4 separate regions of the Homo sapiens genome follow, and regions 2, 3 and 4 are each linked to region 1. Evidence: promoter capture Hi-C in 16 types of primary human blood cells and fetal thymus (Javierre and others, 2016). All regions are on one chromosome and are shown on one strand. The core of a region is centred on a gene start or on the middle of the fragment in contact, and the rest is flanking DNA. Distances in the headings are between cores, read along the strand shown. Region 1 holds the start of TIMELESS (timeless circadian regulator). Region 2 overlaps CNPY2 (canopy FGF signaling regulator 2). Region 3 overlaps LOC107984468 (a long non-coding RNA gene). Region 4 overlaps ANKRD52 (ankyrin repeat domain 52).

Region 1 (2,700 bases), core at 116-2,615:
CAAGGCTTCCAAGGGTTAGGAGAAGGGACTCAAGGGAGGTGGGTGGTGAAAACGGAGTATTAGCCCCAGATCAGGATGTAGGTGTACCGAAGAATTGGGGGGAAGTTAATGGGAATATATAGCCTACTTATCTTAGGGATGCTTGCCCCAGGGACTTGGGTGGGGAAGTAGCTCTGAGAAAAGTGAACACTAGGATTTAGCTGTTCTGTAAAGCCACGTAAACCTGTCTACATCCGCTGGCTGGTTGTGTTCATTCTGACATAATGGATCTCTTCAGAGGTCCTGGGCCAAAGAGCTTCCAACCTAAATAGAGCTTGGGCAAGCCTAGAATCTAGAAAAATTAAGCAGCTTAACTGGTCAGCCTGACATCCACTGTTGTGGCTGCCTGGCAGATGGTATTTAAGCCCCACAATTGTTCCCTAAGGCCAACACAGGAAATCTGATTCCTGGAGCAAATAAATGAACGGGTGGTAGTAGGGGGCATGAGGGGAGAGGCTTTGACTCTGTTCTAATTTATTTAGAGCAAATCAAAACACTCCTCAAATGGCATCTTTCTGCTTTTATCACTAGTTCCGTGTTTTTTTTCTTGTTTTGTGTCTGTGTATTTTCATTTCTCTGTCATCCGTCCTTTCATCTTGAAGCAAATCTCTTCTAACTCCCTCATACCCCAGAAATTGATTCCTTCTATTCAAATGCTTAATAATTCAGGAGATTATTATTTGTTTGAGCCCTATCTTCTTTTTTTTTTTGAGAGGGGGTCTTACTATGTTGACCAGGTTGGAGTGCAATGGATATTCACAGGCACGATCATCGCACACTACAGTCTAGAAATCCTGGGCTCAAGCGATCTTCCTGCTTCAGCCTCCCCAGTAGCTGGGATTACAGGGGGCCAGAGCACAGCCCTATTTTCTTTTCCTTTTGGCAAGATCATCTCAGCAGAGGCCAGAAGAGACCCTCAACTGTTCAATGAATATTTACGGTTGCTTTCTTCCTTTTATGAGCCTCTTGCATACTTTGAAAGCTTTAAATTTATACCTATAATACAACGGACATCCCCTATCCCAGAAGACCATTCCTCCCTGTACTTCAGCTCTTTACTTCCTCCCAAATAAAACCTAACTTTTCTAACTAACTATTTAAGACTTGGAATAGTCCGCTTGACTAGAAGAAGGGGAAGAATGTTTGTAAATTCACCTCTAATCGGACTTTGATTCTACTATAATTCAGCAGAAAATTCATAGCGCTGTGATTTTTAGATCGACCTCACATAAAACAGTCCCTGCACTCGCTTCCCTTTTCCTTCCTTCTTCACCAATCTCCGCCCCAGTTCGCTCGGAGTCACGTGGACCAGCCCGGCTCGCCCCGCCTCGCTCTTCGCGCAGGCGGGGACCGGTCCAGCTGAGCCTGGTGGCGGAAAGGCTGCGGCCCCGCGCCAGAGGGCCGGTGGCTCCTCCGGGCTTCTGAGGACCCGCAGGGAGCGGGTGAGTGAGTGTGTGGCGAGAGGGCGCTAAGCGGACACGGGGATCCTTTCGAAGCTATGGGGGCATTCTCGGGAAACGCTGAGTCCCTTTTCCCGCCACCCGGTTTAGAGCCAGGGGGCGGGGCTCGTGCTGCAGGCGCGCACGCGCAATTCTGTACTCTGCTCCTTAGTCTCCCGCGCCGCGTTCCCGGGTCTCACCGGACGCGGGCTTAGCCCTACGCTGCTCCGCACAGCTTGGGTCTCCCGCGGGATGGGGTTGTGATGGAAAGGGGCTTGGAATTCCTGAATTAGAACAGAAAGTGCCTGAGGGAGTTCCACTTCGGAGCTTAGCATCTAGTTGAGACCTCCTGAAAAAAACCGGTGTGTGGCCTGGCGGTCAGCAGTGGTCGGAATTCACAGGCCGCTTTACTTATATCGTGGGTTTTATGGAACGGATTTCTCACTCCCTCCCTTCGTTGCCTTGTTCGGGTTTGTCACCTGGACCTCAGCCGCTAATGAAGCTTTTTTCCTTGAGCCTCTCAATTCTTTGCCATTCGTGCTTCGACTAGTACTTTCAATTTTTTATTTATTTTATTTTATTTTGAGACGGAGTCTCGTTCTGTCGCCCAGGATGGAGTGCAGTGGCGCCATCTCGGCTCACTGCAACCTCCGCCTCCCGGGTTCAAGCGATTCTCTTGCCTCAGCTTCCTGAGTAGCTGGGATTACAGGCGCGCGCCACCATGCCCGGCTAATTTTTGTATTTTTTTTAGTAGAGATGGGGGTTTCACCTTATTGGTCAGGATGATCTCAAACTCCTGACTTCGTGATCCGCCCGCCTCGGCCTCCCAAAGTGCTGGGATTATAGGCGTGAGCCACCGCGCCTGGCCTGTTTGTTTTTTTTGGTTGTTTTGTTTTGTTTTGTTTTTGAGATGGAGTCTGGCTCTGTCGCCCAGGCTGGAGTGCAGTGGTCCGATCTCGGCTCACTGCAACCTCCGCCTCCCCAGTTCAAGCGATTCTCCTGCCTCAGCCTCCCCAGGAGCTGGGATTACAGCTGCCCGCCACCACGCCCGGCTAATTTTTGTATTTTTAGTAGAGATGGGGTTTCACCATGTTGGCCAGGCCGGTCTCGAACTCCTGACCTCAAATGATCCGCCCGCGTCGGCCTCCCACAGTGCTGGGATTACGGGTGTGAGCCACCACACCCGGCCCTACTAGTACTTTGTACAAAGTAAAGGTAGATC
Region 2 (2,700 bases), core at 147-2,646, 140 kb after region 1:
GTACAGAGGTAGAAGAGAGTGACCCAAGGCTGAGGACATTTCTAGGTGCCTTATGCCCGCTCAGAGGCCCACCTCACAGAGCTGCTGGAGGAGATATGTGACCGGATGAAGGAGTATGGGGAACAGATTGATCCTTCCACCCATCGCAAGAACTACGTACGTGTAGTGGGCCGGAATGGAGAATCCAGTGAACTGGACCTACAAGGCATCCGAATCGACTCAGATATTAGCGGCACCCTCAAGTTTGCGGTGAGCTATGGGAATCGGTAGCTGGTTCTTGGACATTAAGGGGTTGTTGGAGAACCAATTAGAAAGTTAGGCTGATATCCTTGTCCTCCTCTTTGGAAGTGAAGGCAAGAGGCCTCTTATTGCCCTGTGTCACCCATTTCTCCCTTGGGTTGGCAGTGTGAGAGCATTGTGGAGGAATACGAGGATGAACTCATTGAATTCTTTTCCCGAGAGGCTGACAATGTTAAAGACAAACTTTGCAGTAAGCGAACAGGTAAGCTGCCCCCACTTTATCTCCTGTTCTAGTAGCTCTGTGGAACCTGACATTCCCTAACTCACCCATACACCCCCATCCCAGAAACCTCTGGTATTAGGTCAAGAGCTGTCTTCCATTTCCCTTGGCTTAGGGACTTGGGGTGTTCCTCCACATTTTCTGTCAGCTTTCAGAATTTGTGTCCCCTTGACCCTGAGATACAGGTGAGAGGACAGTGGGGATGTTTTATCATTTATAAGCATATATTCTGCAGAATGGTGGTTGGTGTGTGTTTGTGTCAGCTTGGTCTGGGAAATTTTCTTGATACTGGCAGATATCAGTATGAGAATGGCATATTCCTTTAAATTGTTTGCCATTTGCAGATCTTTGTGACCATGCCCTGCACATATCGCATGATGAGCTATGAACCACTGGAGCAGCCCACACTGGCTTGATGGATCACCCCCAGGAGGGGAAAATGGTGGCAATGCCTTTTATATATTATGTTTTTACTGAAATTAACTGAAAAAATATGAAACCAAAAGTACAAACTGTGTTGTCTTTTCATGCCTGGAATTGCCCTTACATTAAGCTTGAAGATAAGGAGTTATATAGACAGGAAAGATAATGGAGGAGAAAGAAGAGTTTTGGGATTGATACAGGATAAAGGTAGGAGAGGCCTGAACCTTTAATTCTTCTACCTTCTGAGATTCCACTCCACTCATAAACTAGATAAGCTTTCAGTCAGTGCCCACTCAATACCACGTCTTTAGAGTCTAATTGTGGAGAATAGAGGAACCTCCATGAGGAAGCAGGGGAACATAGTGTATGGTAGTGTAGAATTCTAGAAATCCCTTGTGTTCATGGCTGTTGAAACATAAAGTAAGACAGGGCTTGGTCTTGAAGGAAATAACGGATATGCATTATTCTTCCTTCCCTGCCCATCCAGATGGAGGGACCAGCAAGAACAGAGACAGGAAGGGGAAAATGGATGTGACCAACTCAGCTGAAAAGTAAGGGCTTTATCGGATAGGGACAGACGAGGTAAGGAAGGTTGTTTAATGAGAGGCCTTGCTTGCCAGCCTAAGCTTTTAAATTTGATGCCAGTGGCAACAATAAAGTGTATCTATCACTAGCCATTGTCAATCTGGACTATAAGTCTGTCCACAATTCTGTGTGTAGAGATTCCAGACTGGGGCATAGGGATGAAAACCTAAAGGATACCTTCTTTTGGGAAATTCTTTTTTTCTTTTTTTTTCTGAGATGGAGTCCCGCTCTGTCGCCTAGGCTGGAGTACAGTGGCGCGATCTCGGCTCACTACAAGCTCTGCCTCCCAGGTTCACGCCATTATCCTGACTCAGCCTCCCGAGTAGCTGGGACTACAGGCGCCCGCCACCACACCGGCTAATTTTTTTTTTTTTTTTTTTGTGAGACAGAGTCTCGCTCTATCGCCCAGGCTGGAGTACAGTGGCGCGATCTCGGCTTACTGCAAGCTTCGCCTCCCGGGTTCACACCATTCTCCTGCCTCAGCCTCCCAAGTAGCTGGGACTATAGGCACCCGCCACCACGCCCGGCTAATTTTTTGTATTTTTAGTAGAGACGGGGTTTCACCATGTTAGCCAGGATGGTCTCGATCTCCTGACTTCGTGATCCGCCCGCCTTGGCCTCCCAAACTGCTGGGATTACAGGCGTGAGCCACCGCGCCCGGCCTGCACTGGCTAATTTTTTTGTATTTTTAGTAGAGGCAGGGTTTCACCGTGTTAGCCAGGATGGTCTCGATCTCCTGACCTCATGATCCGCCCGCCTTGGCCTCCCCAAATGCTGGGATTACTGGTGTGAGCCACCGCACCTGGCAGAAAATTCTTAAGCACTCTGAGCTTGAGGTATGGTTGTCTCAGGGTTTCAAATGGAATATCTCCGGTCCCAAGAACACCTCAAGGAGAGAAGACCTGAATAAACATTTCAAAGGTTTTAAAAATTACATCATTTTAGAATCTAAAGGAACCTTAGAGGTCGTCTGGTTCACCTCTGCCCATTTTATTGATGAAGAAGCTGAGGCCCAGAGAAGCCATAGAACTTTATGAAGTTCTGTATTTAATGGCAAAACTGGGTCTATAAGCTAACTTTCCCAAGTGCTGACCTGATCTAATATAGCTATAGAGTACCTTCTATTTTAAGTCTTTTTTCTCTAATAATACCTTGCACTAAGCCTGGCGCAT
Region 3 (2,700 bases), core at 117-2,616, 260 kb after region 1:
CAGGCAAAATAATAATACTTTTAAGATCTAAGAATTTATTGCTGAAAAGATCATTATATGGTGAGACTACCTAGTTAGTAAAGAGAAGGAACTTCATGAGGGATGGCAGGGGTTGGGCTGTCACACGGAGATGACCAGCCAGATTAGATGGAAGGTATCTTAGTGGAAAGATGTAAGGGTAAGAAAAACGGGCAATTTAGGCAGGGTATGTTGATAATAGGATCATGTGTTTGTTTAGATGGGGAACTGAGTTCCTGGACAGGGGAATAATATGATGAAAGCAGTGTAATCACACTAATATAGGGTGGATTTCAGTGTGGTGAAACTAGGGCACCTTGAAGGCCATCGTAACAGGCATGAATTAAGATGATGTGCTTGGGGAAGCAACTGATGAATCAGTGTGATGGGCTTGGGAGAAAACAAACTTCAGATAATTAATTCTTAGAGCTGGAAATGAAGGAATTGAGTGAATAGTGGTATCAACAAAAGTGGGAAAAGTTCAGAACGATGATTGTGAGAGAGGAAGAGAAGCTTTGTTTGCATATTAGGTGACACTAGGTCAGCTGTGCAGAGATGTGAACAGCTGGAGATAAAGGACCATGGTTTAGCTGAGGACATACCTGGAAAGGTGGCTCTGAGATTTTGTCTCGGGAGAATGAAGCTTTGGTGGAAATTCCACAGGAGGAAGAAGAAAGCAAATGAGGTGGAGAAGCAGTATACTGAGAAGGAGAAAAACAATAAGTGTTTCTGAAGGCCAGTAAGAAATCAATGTTGTTTCAAACACAGAAAGGATGGAGACTGAGAAGAGATTATTAAATTTGTCCAGTGGTTTCTATTAACGTCTAAAAAACTTCAGGAGGCCGGGCGCGGTGGCTCACACCTGTAATCTCAGCACTTGGGGAGGCTGAGGCAGGTGGATCACTTGAGGTCAGGAGTTCAAAACCAGCCTGGTCAACATAGCAAAACCCCGTCCCTACTAAAAATACAAAAAAAAAAAATTAGCCAGGCGCATGGTGACAGGGACCTGTAATACCAGCTACTTGGGAGGCTGAGGCAGGAGAATTGCTTGAACCTGGGAGGTGGTGGTTGCAGTGAGCCGAGCTTGTGCCACTGCACTCCAGCCTAGGTGAGAGAGCAAGACTCTGTCTCAAAAAAAAATAAAAAGTAAAAAAGTAAAAAAGAAAAAAAAACCAAAACACTTCAGGAGGCAGAAACCAGATGACGGGGTATCTGATAGTATGGAACTGGAGGCAGAAAGGTATACATTTTATTCGAAAAATAAAAGGAAGTAGAAAACAATGTGGAAATTTGAAAGTGTCAAATGAAGGTGGGGTTTTGTTTGTACTGAATTCATGAAGGATTGATCCAGTGGAGTAGAGGAATTTTAAGGTGTTATGGAAGGATATTTATGGAAGGTTCCTTAGGAGGTTTAAATGAGTGGGACTACAGGCTTAAGTGGAGAAGGTTACTTCAGGGAAAATATGGAAGGCCACATACTGTAGCAGGAACTAAAGAATGCCAGTGGGTGATATGTAAATATGTAAGAATGGTGAGAGAGAGGGGGCCAGATCATGCAAGGTAAAGAAAGGTAAAAGAATAGTTAGGATTTGTTGGAGTGGAAGAGGAAGGGTGAAGGAATTGGGGAGATGGGGTGGGTACATGGGGATGGTAGAAATTTAAAATGATCTATTGTATATGAAGGTTTGAAGCCTCGGCCTCTCACCCACAAAAGTTACAAGAGAAGCATTTGAGAGTAAAAGGGATGAACTTCAAGTAGCAAACTACCTCTGCCATATTTCCCTTCTTGGTCCAGATCCTCCATTTTGTAAACCATGGAGCCTTCTTCCCTTCACAACATAGTTGTTGGTTGCCCTCTGCTGGTCAATTCTGGTCTTGGCTCTCCAGATATTTAAATATGAGAACCTGTGCAAATTGGGATTTGGTAGGAAGGAGAATCATGAGCCTATGAGATTTTATAAATTCATTCAACACATAGTTGATCACATCTATAAGGCCTTGTAGAGAAGATACAAATAAATAAAATACACAGCCCTAACTCTCAAGAAGCTTATATACCAGTCTAAAGATTAAAACATGTACACATAACTACTGTAAAAAACACCCATTTATGCAAAAAAATTTTAAAAACTGACTCCTTATCTGTGTTTAATGTGTTTATATGCCACAGGGGAAGAAAGACTTCACATAATAAGTTGAGAGCATAGGATGTGGTAGGCAACAAGTGGTCAGAGAAAACTCCACAGGAGAACCAACATTTAGGTGGAGAATGAGTAGAAAGTGTGGAAGAGAAAGATTATTCCAGGCAGAGAACACCATGAGCAAGGCTAAATAACTACCAGGAAGAACTAAAAGAATGCCAGTGGACAGAATGTAGTGAATATGGAAGAGTGGTGAGAGAAAAGGGGTCATATCCTGCAACACAGAAAGCAGCCATAGAAGGGTTTAAGGTCCCGGACTGCAGTGTGGATGCTTTAGTGCAGTTTTCTATATATTACCTCGTATGGTGCTCACAAATACCACTACCTTCCAAATGAAGGCTCTAGCTCAGCCTGCACTCACCCCTGAGAAAAGTGAGCATATTTGAGACATATTTAGAAGGTAAAATAAATGGAACCTGTTTCTATTTTATTTTAATTTTATTTTATTTGAGACAGAGTCTTGCTGCATCGCCCAAGCTGG
Region 4 (2,700 bases), core at 101-2,600, 200 kb after region 1:
TAGGATAGGCCCTTGGAACTCTGACCAAGGGACCTGTGGAAATGGCCCTGCTCTGCCCTGCCCAGTCTCCTAAGGCCTAGAAACAGGATAAAATATGTAGAATCCTGGGCCTGGCACCTGATGCATACATAGTAGGCACTCAAATCATGGCTAGCTCGCGAAAGTGGTCTTAAGCCTGAGGTCTGCCTGAGCTTGTGTGTGTGCATCCCCTCACAGGCAGCGAGATTGATTGTGCCGACAAATTTGGGAACACGCCACTGCATGTGGCTGCTCGATATGGACACGAGCTGCTCATCAGCACCCTCATGACCAATGGCGCAGATACCGCCCGGTGAGTCAGGGCCCCGACTCCACTTCTGGGCTGCCCAGATCTGCACAGACTGCTCACATCAACCATGGAGGCACAGATAAGCTTGCCAAAGGGCACCTTGGAGAACCTCCTACCCTGACTCTAGGGTGGTGGTAGGTCACAGAAGAGGTCTTACTTGGTCCCTCCTTGACCCAAGGACTGAGTCCCTCAACTTCTCTCTAGGCGTGGCATCCATGACATGTTCCCCCTGCACTTAGCTGTTCTCTTTGGATTCTCTGACTGTTGTCGTAAGCTTCTTTCCTCAGGTATGTGCTGATGGGCTGGGGATTGGCAGGTGTATAGGAGAGCAAAGGCCTTTCCCTCCCTGCTGAACACTCTCAGATGTGACCTGTGGCTGTTCTGTGCCTCCAGGTCAGTTGTACAGCATTGTGTCTTCACTCAGCAATGAGCATGTGCTTTCAGCTGGGTTTGACATCAATACACCTGACAACCTTGGCCGTACCTGTCTTCATGCTGCTGCTTCCGGAGGGTGAGTTCTCTTTCTCTCTCCCATGCTTTGAGCAGGGAGCTGGGCAAAGGTCTGGGCCCCTCATTCTTGCCTGCCCAGATCTATTCCCCCTCTCACAATGAAAGCAGTCACAGCAGAAAGGGCTTGCTAGTCCCATCCTTCCTTAGCCCCACCCTGGGCCTGTGGCTTCCCTTTGAGGCTGTAACTCTCTTAACACATCTTTCTTTTAGGAATGTTGAATGTCTTAATTTGCTGTTGAGCAGTGGAGCTGACTTGAGGAGGAGGGACAAATTTGGCAGGTATGCTAATATGCAGGGGTAAACATAGGGAATATCTGATTAGAGAAACAAATGGTAGAGGGAGGAAGGGTTTAGATTGGAGACTTAAATAAGGAGAATGTTACAAAGCAGCATTTGGCTGCACATCTGATTGCATTCGTATCTGTCTCTGATTCTCTTCCCCACCCTCCTTCACTTCTTCCCCAGGACCCCACTGCACTATGCAGCTGCTAACGGTAGCTACCAGTGTGCAGTAACATTGGTGACTGCTGGGGCAGGTGTCAACGAGGCCGACTGTAAAGGCTGCTCTCCCCTCCACTACGCTGCCGCTTCTGACACTTACAGGAGGTGAGGCTACCAGTCTGGTCCTTCTCAGCCCCATTCACCTCCCTGAGCCTGGCCCTAACTTTCTCTCTCTCTTCCCCAGAGCGGAACCCCATACACCTTCCAGCCATGATGCCGAAGAGGACGAGCCACTGAAGGAGTCCCGCAGGAAGGAGGCCTTCTTGTGAGTAGCAGAGAGGGCCCCTGGGATGTGCTTTCCCCAACCCATGCAAGCTCTGGCCCTACTGTCCTCCTACCTAATCTGAACCTCTACCCTATACTGCTGCTGTCCTGCCGGTCAGCCAGCAGTGTGTCTTGAGCCCTCTGGGTGTAGTCCATAGTGGGCAAAGACAAAAGTATGAGATTGAAGCTCAGGAGCTTCAGGGGGAAAAAAAAACCCAAAAGTATGAGACATAGTTCCTTCCCTAAAGGAATGGATTTTTTTTTTTTTTTTTTTTTTGGAGACAGAGTCTCACTCTGTTGCCCAGGCTGGAATGCAGTGGTGTGATCTCAGCTCACCGCGCCCGGCTGGTCTTCTTGAGAGGATTAGAAAAGCTAAATGTACAAAATAATTTGTTTATTCCACAAGCATTAATTAAATATTTACTTACTAGGTTCCAAGTACTGTGCTAGATACTAAGGATAAAAGATGAGGCTGGGCGTAGTGGCTCAAGCTTGTAATCCTAGCACTTAGGGAGGCTGAGGTAGGCAGATCACCTGAGGTTAGGAGTTCAAGACCAGCTTGACCAACATGGTGAAACCCCGTCTCTACTAAAAATACAAAAAATTAACCAGGTGTGGTGGCACACGCCTATAATCCCAGCTACTCAGGAGGCCGAGGCAGGAGAATTGCTTGAACCAGGGAGGTGGAGGTTGTAGTGAGCCGAGATCACGCCACTGCACTCCAGCCTGGGCAACCGAACAAGACTCTGTCTCAAAAAAATTAAAATTAAAAATAGGCCGGGTGTGGTGGTTCACGCCTATAATCCCAGCACTTTGGGAGGCCGAGGCAGGCAGATCATCTGAGGTCAGGAGTTCGAGACCAGCCTGGCCAACGTGGTGAAACCCCGTCTCTACTAAAAATATAAAAATTAGCTGGTCATGTTGGCAGGCACCTGTAATCCCAGCTACTCGGGTGGCTAAGGCAGGAGAATCACTTGAACCAGGGAGGTGGAGGTTGCAGTGAGTCAAGATCACACTAATCCACTCCAACCTGGGCGACAGAGTGAGACTCTGTCTCCAAAAAAACAAATAAATAAATAAAATTAAATAAAAATTTA

What was found. Contacts are between HindIII fragments. The CHiCAGO score rates a contact against its expected background, and 5 or more counts as called.
Region 2: a fragment that was not itself captured here is called in contact with the fragment with the promoter of TIMELESS in region 1 in 12 of 17 cell types (endothelial precursors, M1 macrophages, naive B cells and 9 more); the score reaches 11.8 in endothelial precursors.
Region 3: a contact is called between a fragment that was not itself captured here and the fragment with the promoter of TIMELESS in region 1, in 17 of 17 cell types (total CD8 T cells, naive B cells, naive CD8 T cells and 14 more). The highest score is 14.1, in total CD8 T cells.
Region 4: a contact is called between a fragment that was not itself captured here and the fragment with the promoter of TIMELESS in region 1, in 9 of 17 cell types (naive CD4 T cells, M2 macrophages, M1 macrophages and 6 more). The highest score is 8.5, in naive CD4 T cells.

What each region holds. Positions count from the first base shown.
Region 1 is chr12:56,448,091-56,450,790 of GRCh38, reverse strand. It overlaps TIMELESS (timeless circadian regulator), which reads left to right and starts at 1,365. Exons shown (of 29, transcript NM_003920.5): 1 at 1,365-1,481. It overlaps MIP (major intrinsic protein of lens fiber), which reads left to right. Exons shown (of 4, transcript NM_012064.4): 4 at 1-1,289. RefSeq lists enhancers at 1,622-1,711, 1,822-1,941, 1,964-2,484. The HindIII fragment of the contact is 959 bases long and covers 1,024-1,982 here.
Region 2 is chr12:56,308,760-56,311,459 of GRCh38, reverse strand. It overlaps CNPY2 (canopy FGF signaling regulator 2), which reads left to right. Exons shown (of 6, transcript NM_014255.7): 4 at 46-249; 5 at 406-502; 6 at 865-1,616. The coding sequence ends at 908. It overlaps CNPY2-AS1 (CNPY2 antisense RNA 1), which reads right to left and starts at 46. Exons shown (of 2, transcript XR_002957416.2): 1 at 1-46. The HindIII fragment of the contact is 351 bases long and covers 1,221-1,571 here.
Region 3 is chr12:56,192,316-56,195,015 of GRCh38, reverse strand. It overlaps LOC107984468 (a long non-coding RNA gene), which reads right to left. Exons shown (of 2, transcript XR_007063330.1): 2 at 1-1,923. Among named protein-coding and RNA genes, the nearest start is that of TRS-CGA4-1, 3.3 kb to the right of the region's middle. The HindIII fragment of the contact is 1,406 bases long and covers 664-2,069 here.
Region 4 is chr12:56,250,919-56,253,618 of GRCh38, reverse strand. It overlaps ANKRD52 (ankyrin repeat domain 52), which reads left to right. Exons shown (of 28, transcript NM_173595.4): 10 at 217-331; 11 at 533-615; 12 at 722-839; 13 at 1,049-1,117; 14 at 1,304-1,444; 15 at 1,524-1,604. Among named protein-coding and RNA genes, the nearest start is that of ANKRD52, 6.1 kb to the left of the region's middle. The HindIII fragment of the contact is 1,492 bases long and covers 605-2,096 here.